2 separate regions of the Homo sapiens genome follow, and region 1 is linked to region 2. Evidence: promoter capture Hi-C in 16 types of primary human blood cells and fetal thymus (Javierre and others, 2016). All regions are on one chromosome and are shown on one strand. The core of a region is centred on a gene start or on the middle of the fragment in contact, and the rest is flanking DNA. Distances in the headings are between cores, read along the strand shown.

The links. The method cuts DNA at HindIII sites, captures the fragments that hold promoters and counts their contacts. A CHiCAGO score of 5 or more calls a contact.
Region 1: a contact is called between a fragment that was not itself captured here and the fragment with the promoter of COG3 in region 2, in 1 of 17 cell types (total CD8 T cells). The highest score is 5.4, in total CD8 T cells.

The regions. Positions count from the first base shown.
Region 1 is chr13:45,036,769-45,042,389 of GRCh38, forward strand. It overlaps a transcript of GPALPP1 not described here. Among named protein-coding and RNA genes, the nearest start is that of GPALPP1, 50 kb to the left of the region's middle. The HindIII fragment of the contact is 1,751 bases long and covers 1,719-3,469 here.
Region 2 is chr13:45,461,247-45,467,186 of GRCh38, forward strand. It overlaps COG3 (component of oligomeric golgi complex 3), which reads left to right and starts at 3,693. Exons shown (of 23, transcript NM_031431.4): 1 at 3,693-3,964. The coding sequence starts at 3,791. The HindIII fragment of the contact is 5,472 bases long and covers 1,900-5,940 here.

The DNA of each region.
Region 1 (5,621 bases), core at 1,344-3,843, 430 kb before region 2:
GACCCTGTCTCTACAAAAAAATAAAAATTAAAAATTATCTGGGCATGGTGGCATGGCATGCATCTGTAGTCCCAGCTACTCAGGAAGCTAAGGCAGGAGGATCACTTGAGCCCAAGAGTTCAAGGCTGCAGTGAGCTATGAACATGCCACTGCACTCCAGCCAGGGAGACAGAGAGACCCCATCTCTAAAAGAGAAAAAAAGAAAGCAATAAAATTCTGCAGAACTAGGTAGGAAAGACAATAAAAGCTACAAGGGTGCATCATTGTTTTGAGATCTAGACAAATTTCGAGAACCTATTCAAGAATATTGAAAAGTATTTCAAAGTTCATTTTCATATCTCTGATTACTTACCGCTGTCCTGCCCTTTAAAGCACTTCCATTTGTTTTCTTTATGATGGGGTAATGTTGGCCAAACAGGCTATATGATAAAGTATTTAGTCCTAGTTTTATCTTCATACAATCAGAGCTCTGAGATGAAAATAAACTTGTTCCTTTTTTATCACTAGGTACAAAACAACAAATGAAGTTGCTTATGTATATAATATGATGATTTTTGTCTTTTTAGGTAATGGCTGAAAGCAACACATTTTGCTAACCTAAGGATAAATAATACTATAATACCTAATTCACACTACACACTTAACAAAAGCAATTTATCATCAGCCTAAGATTGCTAATTTTTATAACAGGTACAGACATAATTAACTTAATATTGACCAGCAAATAAATCTAGAAATTGTGCTTATTCTTTAGTATTCATTTTAACTGAATTTAAATTAGTGTTTTTCCCTAACAGCCTTGTATATTGCTTAATAAAATTGTCATATTTGAAAACAGAGATTCTTAAAGTTTAAAATGCTTGCAGTCAAATGACAGTTTATCAATAAAGATTTAAAACTATCTTTTAACCTGTCAGTTTGTAAGATGCTAATCAATCCATTATACTGTGTTGCCTCTAAGAAAATGACATGAAAAGATGGTTTCAGAATATTTCTTTCTACCAGCAAATCATAAAGAGCTTTTTAAAATCACATTTATAGTCTTTCCAGTGAGCTTATGTGAACACACAGTGGGGCTGCATCTTTATTGAGTATTTACCAGAACTGAGTAATATCTAGGCTTAGGTGAATGGAAGGTGATAGTTGAACAAAAATGATGACCAATTTAGTCAGCAAAATCGATGTCTTTCCAACTTTGATGTGAATCAGAATCCCCTGGGAGCTTATTACAAACATAGATGCCCTAACCTTCCAGAGGATTTTGTTTTGTTTTGTTTTTTTGGAGACAGAGTCTCATTCTGTTGCCCAGACTGGAGTGCAGTGGTACACATCTTGGCTCACTGCAACTTCTGCCTCCCAGGCTCAAGCGATTCTCCTGCCTCAGCCTCCTGAGTAGCTGGGACTACAGGCATGCACCACCACACCAGGCTATTGTCTGTGAGTAAAGACGGGGTTTTCACCATGTTTGCCAGGCTAGTCTCAAACTCCTGGTCTTAAGTGATCTGCCCACCTCAGCCTCCCAAAGTGCTGGAATTACAGGTGTGAGCCACCATGCCCAGCCAATCAGAAGTTTTGATTCCATCTATAGGTTTGGGGTTGGGCCCAATAGATGGTTGGGCCGTCTATTTTGGGCAAGCTGCCCAGGTGATTCTGTGTACCCTGAAGTATGAGAATCCAACTTGGTTTGGTCTGAACATGACATTTCTAGAGGTTCTTAAAGCTTAAAATGTTTGCAGTCAAACCACAGTTTAGAGTCTAACATTAATAGAATCAAGATTAAGATTTCTAGAATCAAAGATGTTGGATGGTTGTCAGATTGTGGCCACTGAGCCTCTTGATTCAAAAGATAGAAGGCAAAACTCATTTTCCTAGGCTCCCTTGCTGCTAGAGCACAAGTATGTGGCCTGGCCTCTGCCAATCAGATGCACCCACGTGCAGTTGGTATTCCAAGAGATAAGGGAAGAAGTTGGCATTCCCAGAATCGTCTTCTGATGGGCATATTAGTGGACACGGACTGATCTTCAACAGCAGCAGAGGCGGCATGTCTGGCACCCAGTCCCAAGCATCAGTGGTGTCAACTGCTGTGGCTGTGAGACTGGGGTTTCTCTAGAGGAGCATTGCAGTGTGGGTGGATATATTCCTGCTTATATAACTTCTGGTCAGCTTAAACTAATCAGAGTATACTACTTTGTTTGCAACTAAGCCCTGACTAACATACGGAAGTTATACCATGCCAGTTAACCATGGTATAAACTTTGGAGACAGCAGCCTGCAGTCAATTCCTATGTAAACACTAGCTTTGTAAACCTGAGAAAGGTTCTTAACCTATTTCAGCTGTAATTTATTTGTCTCTTAAATGGGCAATAATAACTCACAAGATGTTACCAGGATTACATGAGATGACATATTTAAATAATTAGCACAAAATCCAGCAATAAATGATGGTGTCGTTATTGTAGCCCCCTGGCTATTAGATGCACTCAGACAACTCTGGTAAACAGGCTCACTTATTTCTTACAACCTCAGAAGATTCCTGTATTGGGACTCTTTGCAGTAAGTGATAGCAACTCAACTCAAATTGGCTTAATCAAAAAAAGATAGTTTATTCACTCATGTGGCCAGGCACAGTGGCTCACACCTGTAATTCCGGCACTTTGGGAGGCCAAGGCAGGAGGACTGCTTGAGGCCAGAAGTTCAAGACCAGCCTTAGCAACATAGGAGACCACGTCTGTACAAAAAATTTTTAAAAATTAGCTAGGGACCGGGTGCGGTGGCTCACGCCTGTAATCCCAACACTTTGGGAGGCCGAGGTGGGCAGATCACGAGGTCAGGAGATTGAGACCATCCTGGCTAACACGGTCAAACCCTGTCTCCACTAAAAATACAAAAAATTAGCCGGGCGTGGTAGCAGGTGCCTGTAGTCCCAGCTACTTGGGAGGCTGAGCAGGAGAATCACTTGAACCGGGGAGGCGGAGGTTGCAGTGAGCCAAGATTGGGCCACTGCACTCCAGCCTGGGCAACTGAGTGAGACTCCATCTCAAAAAAAAAAAAAACAAAAACAAACAAAAATTAGCTGGACATGGTGGTGTGAGCCTGTAATCTCAGCTACTTGGGAGACTGAGACGGGAAGTTGAGGCTGCAGTGAGCCATGTTGACGCTACTGGACTCCAGCCTGGGCGACAAGAGTGAGACCCCTTCTCAAGAAACTAATTAAAAATAAAAGATTTTTTTTTAAATAAAAATAATAAAAAACAAAAACAAGTTAAAAGGAAAAAAAGGAAGCAAAAAAAAAGAAAAAAGAAGATAAAGATTTATTCACTCATGTAATGAAAAGTCCAGACTGTAGCCCTGGCTTTAGGCACAACTGGATCTGGGTGCCCAAAATGTGTCACAGGATTCTGTCTCTCTTCCTCAGCCTGCCTTCCTTTGTGTGAATTTCATCCTCAGGTGGGCTTCCTAGACAGTGACAAGCTTGATAGCAGCATGTCTAAAGTGACGTTCTGCCAGTTTAACCAACCAGTGAAAAGAAAGCTGCTCTTTCCTGCCAAAGTCCAAGAACTGATGCTGATTGGCTCATCTTTGGTCACTTGTTCACCCTAAATCAATCACATGGACAGGAGATAAAACACCCAATAGCCCAGGCTAGTTCCTGTCTCTACCCATGGAGCCAAAGGGTGGGTTAAACTCTATCTAAACCACCTAGAACAAAAACTTGGCAGGGTAGTTCCCTAAAAGAAAGTGGAAATGTTATCATTGGAAACAAAGATTACACATACTATAAAGGCAAAAACATCTGATGCTATGGCTCCGTCTCACCTTTGATTCCCACCAGTTTTCTAATGAGAATACCAACATTGTGTTTACCAAACTGCGGTCTCACCCACCTAACCTGTCCATTCATCTCAGGTTTACCAATGTTAGCATCTGGCCATTGTGAACCCCCTTTTCATTAGATATCTGCTAGTCCTGTCTCATGGTTATGAATTTTCATGTGCAGAGGGGATGGGGCACATGCACACATCGACATGCTTCAGAGATGACTCAGCCAGGGTGGGTGCCACCCAGTAAGATGGCGTTGTTTCTAAAATGCCTGCTCCTCCCTCCTGATTTGCTTCCATCACATCCTCTGACATCAAGAAGTACATTTAGCACAAACAAGGTAGATGAGAAATGAGCTGTCACAGTTTATTCACCACATTCTGCTGCAATTTATAAATCACAGTACAATTCAAAATGATTTATTTAGCCTTTCCATCTAAAAAAAAAAAGAAAGGGAAATGAAAAAAATATGAAGGATTACCAGCTCCAACCCAATCAATAGCAAGGAAGCCTGCTTAACTCTGCCAATTAATCGTGTCTCTTGGATATGAGATGTCCAATGACAGGAGGCTTGGAGAGAGGTTAGCCAAAGTCAAAACCAGATTCACCGTCACTTCAAGCTCAAGGGGTCTAGAGTTAGCTGCTCCCAGCTAACCATTATCATTGGTTGAGGGCACTGGTAGGCCACTGGATTCCTCAGCTTGTTCTGCAGTTCTCTAGCCTCTGTGTACCACAATGTTTCCCTAAAGGAAACTGGAGGTATTGTTACCAAAAGAAGATAATGTATTCTGGGTAGGTAAAAACATAAAGAGGAAGAAAGAAACTACAATCAGTAAAAAGCCTGACATAGAGTAGTTCGAAAAGGAATTGTTAAAGCATTGTAGAGAGGTAGGTATTTAATAAATGGTTGTTTATAATTAGCAATCAAATGTGATGCTATAATCCTGCTGGCCTCCCATACATGGCCATTAGATAACTTGTAAATGTATTATTCTAAAGAGAATAGAAGGGCAGGCGTGGTGGCTCCCACCTGTAATCCCAGCACTTTGGGAGACAGAGGCAGGGGGATCACTTGAGGTCAGGAGTCCAAGACCAGCCTGGCCAAGATGGCAAAACCCCATCTCTACCAAAAATACAAAAATTAGCCAAACATGGTGACACATCCCTGTAGTCCCAGCTACTTGGGCAGATGAGGCAGGAGGATCACTTGAACCCAGGAGGCGGAGGTTGCAGTGAGCCAAGATCATGCCACTGCACTCCAGCCTGGGTGACAGAGCAAGACTCTGTCTCAAAAAAAAAAAAGGGAAGGTATTTTTTTTCTTACATAGGTAAATATCCCTAAATGAGCTTTGTTTATACTGCCTAGTAAGCAGTTGAACTTCAGTGTGAGCAATAATGACATTAATTTAGGCATTTAATAATACAAATTATACCTATTAGAGTGTGAGTTTTGAGTTCTCAGTAATAATGCAAAAAAAAGCGGGGGGGGTGTAGCTATAGCCAAAAAAAAAGCTAGTAGAATATTGGATAATAGAAGAGAGAAAAGAAATACAAAAGAAAAAAAAAAGTGCTACACTTGGACAAACCTATGGTGGATCTATCTAGAAAACTGTTTCTTGGCTGGATGCAGTGGCTCACACCTGTAATCCCAGCACCTTGGGAGGCCAAGGCTGGTGGATCGCCTGAGGTCAGGAGTTTGAGACCAGTGTAGCCAACATGGTGAAACCCTCATCTCTACTAAAACACAAAATTAGCTGGGCATGGTGGCTCACGCCTGTAATCCCAGCTACTTAGGAGGCTGA
Region 2 (5,940 bases), core at 2,443-4,942:
CTGATGTGTAAATGAGAAATTGATAAAGTGAGTAAGAAAGGAAATAATTTGAAAAGGAAAACAGATCTTCAGACCCTTGATGAAGCTATAGAAACCTATAGCAAGGGAAGTGGTTCTTCTGATAATAGGCTGGAGAGTATACATAAAGAAATCCATCAATTCCACAAGAACGTGCTCTGAAAATTCACGAGGCAATTGTACACATGCAGCTGTGTATAAGAATGATTTGAACTATTCCATTTTGTAACTTTGCTGTTTTATAAGCAGTGAAGTAAAATGGAAAATGATCTGAGAAGTCTGTGTGTTCTAACGTTCTTCCTCTTTTACGCCATGTTTAGTGTTTTGGCACTAGTACAACCTTGAAGTACCATAGAATGCTGGGAAGCAGTTCTGCCAGCCTGTAATGCTCATCCTTGGAACTCATGCTTGCTAAAATGTCCTGTGACAAAAAAGTACGAATGGGTTCAAATGTACGAATGGGTTCATGTTGCTCACTTTCATTTGTGTTAGCACAGAGGGAAAAGAGAAGGTCCTGCCCAGTGTCCTGGTTCCAATGACAGGTCTGCCCTTTACTAACTGTTATCCTGAGCAGCTCACAAACCTCCCTGAAGTTTGTTTTTATCATTCATTAAATAGGGCAAAAAATAATATCCACCAACTACCTACCTGAGTGAAAGTGAGCAGCAGATGAGAGGTGCTTTGGAAATCAACACATGAGCTATTCTTGCAATGCCACATTATTAGCGGGGGTCCTTTGCAGTGTCCAGGTTTGAGTCATTGAGGAGGGCTGACCATGGCGAGGCTATGAAGCCCTCACTATAAGGAGGTCTTTGGATCCTTACCGCCGTCTCCTTCCCTATCTCTCCCCTTCCTCAATCTAGAGCACCTCTGCCCCTTGTCCCTTAGGCATTTTTCCATTTCCAGGGGCCTATTCTAAGATATTACTGGGTGAAAAACCCTAGGAAGCAAAGAAATGTGGAATTGCAGACACTTGTAGTAGGTAATAGGAAAGTTTAACCATGGTCTATGTCTTTATTAGGGCAGTAGACAGTAGGATGTGGTGCAGTCTTTCTCAAACTAGAGCTTGTGATTACATTTTTAAAATATTTGTTTTCATTTCAACTCTTTTTTTTTTTTTTGAGACAGAGTCTCGCTCTGTTGCCCAGCCTGGAGTATAGTGGCACAATCTCAGCTCACTGCAAGATCCGCCTCCCGGGTTCATGCCATTCTCCTTCCTCAGCCTCCCGAGTAGCTGGGACTACAGGTGCCTGCCACCACGCCCGGCTAATTTTTGGTATTTTTAGTAGAGACTGGGTTTTACCATGTTAGCCAGGATGGTCTCGATCTCCTGACCCCATGATCCGCCCGCCTCAGCCTTCCAAAGTGCTGGGATTACAGGCGTGAGCAACCACACCCAGCCTCATTTCAACTCTTAAAACTATATTCATGCATATTCTGGATCACCAACATGACAGTTTTATAGTTTAGGATTACCACATGATTTCAGCTTCCACCCTCCTTGTTTGTGCATATAGAATATTTTTAATAAAGCTACTAAAAACAGCAGGGTTGTTTTAATATGCAAATGATATATACAAGCCAGATAAAGGAAAAATGGTATTAGGGATTTACCCTGAGTCAAGTGTTCCCAGTAGTTCAAATGGTGGGGAACACAGCATGCTGCTGGTATAACAGAAGTGTGATGAACTCCCAAGCAGCTGTATAGCAGTAGTCAGGACTGTCTTCGTGTTGCCAGAAGCAATTTCGTTTTCCAGCAAAATAATATCCCACATCTCACTTGAGTTGTTAATGTGAATGTTATTGGTTATATACCGTTATATGTTAGTTATATTTCTGTTGGCATGTAACTTGCATGTCTATTTTGGTATAAACATCCAAAGCTTATGTCAAGTCTTATTTTTGTTCATACTTAAGCAATATAATACAATTATTTACATCAACATTGGGGATCTGCAGATTTTTTAAGGGCTTTGTACAGCAGGCAACTTGGAGAAGCTGTGGTATATAAAGGGTGTCAGACACAGTCAGGATATCTAAGTTCCAGTGGTGACGCTGATGTTAACCACCTGATTGCAGGATGTTAGGCTGCTTGCTTCACCTCTACGGGTTGTAGTTTGCTCCTCTGTAGACAGAAAGGGCTTGATTATATGATTTTAAAATTCTCTTCCAACTTCAAATTCTATTCTTTTTTTTTTTGAGACAGAGTTTAGCTCTTGTTGCCCAGGCTGGAGTGCAATGGTGCAACGTTGGCTCACAGCAACCTCCGCCTCCTGGGTTCAAGCGATTCTCCTGCCTCAGCCTCCCGAGTAGCTGGGATTACAGGCATGCACCTCCACGCGCAGCTAAGTTTTTTTGTATTTTTAGTAGAGACGGGATTTCTCCATGTTGATCAGGCTGGTCTCGAACTCCCGACCTCAGGTAATCCGCCCACCTCGGCTTCCCAGAGTGCTGGGATTACAGGTGTGAGCCACTGCGCCCGGTCTCAAATTCTGCTCTTAAAAGATCAGAGCCTTCATTTGGGAACATAGCCAGGCACTGATTTGTGCTATAAAGCCTGAATAAAGCCTTCAGACTTTACCCAGACAATGGTCAAAATTGCTACGAAGCTGTTTCCACCTGCCTTGACTCCAGGGAGGAGCAGGAAGAGGCCTCCATAACTTGTAGAAGATTGTCTGTTCTCCACCATTTATTTATTCAATCGTTTATTTATAGCAGTATGGACTCATGGGTATTTATTTTATTCTGTAAATTATGATCCAATACTATCATTATTTATTTTGTTGCTCAAATCTACAATATGATTTAAATGGTAGAGTAGAATTACATGTCTGTACCACAAATTATTATTATTATACATTTTGAGACAGTCTCACTTGATGCCCAGGCCGGAATGCAGTGGCAAGATCTCTGCTCACTGCAACGTCCACCTTCCAGGTTCAGGAGATTCTCCTGCCTCAGCCTCTCAGGCTGATTACTGGCATGTGCCACCACGCCTGGCTAATTTTTGTGCTTTTAGTAGAGACGGGGTTCAACCATGTTGGCCAGTCTGGTCTCAAACTCCTGACCTCAGGTGATACGCCCACCTCGGTCTCCCAAAGTGCTGAGATTACAGGCCTGAGCCCCCGCGCCTGGTCTGTGCCACAAATTCTTGATCCAGTTCTTCAATGTTGGACATTTAGGTTGTCTCCAGTTATTTGATACCATTAATGATGTCTGAGATACACACATCTTTGAATTTTTTATGTGTTTCCGTAAATTAGTTTTCTAGTAGGGGAATTACTGGATGTTGGAAAAGTTTATGCTTTTGGTTTTGATCCAAGAGGCATAAATTGTCAACATGCCAACATGGAAATCATACACTCCACACATTCTACCCAGACTACCCAGCTGTAAGCAGAGAGGTGTAGATCCAAGTCTCCTGCCGGCAGGGTGATTTAGCGCAGTTGTCAATAATCTGTACAACACGTAACAATAAAGTTATTGATGTTGAGGAAAAGACTTCCGGTAGGGGCATTTCTATTTCCATTGGGTCCTGTCTTCTCCACCTTCTACGTTTCAACCGGAAATAGTCGTACCCATTTAAAGCCACGTCGGTACTGGCCTCGGTCCCGCCCCCCACACTGCGGAACCGTTTCCGGGGTCAGGGCATTCCGTCCCGCCCCGCCGCCGGTGCAGTGTTGGAAGCTCCGGTTCTCCCGGAAGTGGCCCAGGTCTCTCTGTCGGGGTCCCCTCCATCTCGCTGCTGCTGAAGGCCGCGAGGGCGGCGGCGATGGCGGAGGCGGCGCTGTTGCTGCTGCCTGAGGCGGCGGCGGAGCGGGACGCTAGGGAAAAGCTGGCTCTCTGGGATCGGAGACCGGACACGACGGCGCCGCTGACCGACAGGCAGACGGACTCGGTATTGGAGCTGAAGGCGGCGGCAGAGAACTTGCCGGTGCCAGCTGAGGTGAGGTGATGGGCAGGAACCGGGCCGGGGCGATGGGGCTGGGATTCTCCTCGGGCGCCCCGGCAGGACCCCGGCCTCACTAGCCTCTGCCCAGGATATCTCTCCACTCCTCCCTGGCCATGGTGGCGGATCCGGTGGGAGGGGCCTCATCTCCCAGGCTGTCAGGCTTCGCTCTGCCTGCGACCCCGACTCTAATTCTGCCTGGGGACGGCTGTGGGGGTGTCCTGCAGCTGGTGCTCGCCGGAACCCAGTCCTCCCCCAGCAGCATGGGACGGTTGGCCCGGAGCCTTGCACCGAACGTTTTGCCCCAGACGAGGCGTCCTGTCAGCCGAGGCGTAATCCTGCTGCCCACTCTCTCCCAGAAGGAGAGGCAGTCAACCCGAGGTGCTGTGCTGCAGGACAGTCTCCAGCGCGTGCTCGTTTACCGCCTTAATGATTCACCTAGGTTGCTTTGTCCATGGGGGTCTTGGGGAGACCAAAACTTGGTCCTGAGTGAGTTTCATTTATCGCACATTGAACTATGAGCTCTCAATCAAGTGCAAGTTATGGGAGATCAGATTTATTTCACCTATTGCAAAGCAATAAAAATGAATTTTATTTGAAAGTTGGCTCAGTACATTATTAAGCAGTGCTGGTTTTCGGTGTTAGAGTCAATGTGTTTAATCCACTTACCATTAGGATATTATGCACTACTGCTTCTTGTGTGATTCAATTCAATTAGTTGTAATAGCAGGAAGTAACATGAATTGTCAGATGTTTGACAAACGTTTTCCAGTTTTGAGGGCCAGGTTTAGGAGGATTATTTTATATAAGCAGTGGTGATGGTTACTTTTGATGTTGGAAGCATTCTTTTCTCTCGCTCTGTCGCCCAGGCTGGAGTGCAGTGGCGTGACCTCGGCTCACTGCAACCTCCACCTCCCGGGTTCAAGCGATTCTCCTGTCTCAGCCTCCCGAGTAGCTGGGATCACAGGTGCCTGCCACTACACCCGGCTAATTTTTTGTATTTTTAGTAGAGATGGGGTTTCGCCCTGTTGTCCAGGCTGTTCTCGAACTCCTGACCTCAAGTGATCTGCCCGCCTCGGCCTCCGAAAATGCTGGGATTACAGTCGTGAGCCACCGTGCCTGGCCTGAAGCATTCTTTTTATACGATTTGGAATTGTGTCCAAATGCAGATTGAGTTTAGAGTCTTCAACTTTTTCTGTCCTCCAACTTTAGAGATTTGATTTAAACGTTCTCTTCACATTCACTGTTGTATGCTCAGCCATCAAATAGGCGTTCTTTCTTGGGTTTCTTTTTCCACCTCTAGGATATGGTACCGGAAGTGGATCTGAAATCAATGAAGGCGCAGGTGGAAATTTCTTTGGCTCAGCTATCAAACTCTTTTATACCCTGGATAATAAAAGTTGTTTGCTCTATAAATTTTCCAGTCTGTTTATAATTGATTTGGCTCCTACTGCAGCAGGATGCTTGGACTTAATAGCACTGAGGGTGTGATGGGGGAGATACATATTCTACAAAAAAATTTGTTTTCATTGTCATGGGTCATAAACTATTATTTCTTATTCTCATTGAGCATGAAGGAGAACGTTTGGAATGAACTAAATGGAATCTTTCATTTTCACCCCATTCTTCCATATTTATCATTAGCCACATGCAGTCTTTAACATATGTTATGTCCCTACTCTGAGTTAGGTATTGAAGATAGAAAGATAAATAGGAAAGATGAGATCCTTAGCCTCATAGAGCTGACATAATTGTGGGGATCATGAACATGGAAAAAAAGAACAAAGAAGGTATGTTCAGATGGTGGTCCATAATATAAGGAAAATCAGATAGGATGGTGTGACAGAAAAGGATGAGGTGTGCCCTTTTAGAGAAAGAGGGAAGACCTTTCCAAGGAAGTGACAGCCTGAGGTGAGAACTGATGATGGACTACCTGAAGCTAGCCTCATAAAGACTAAAGAAATAACATTGCA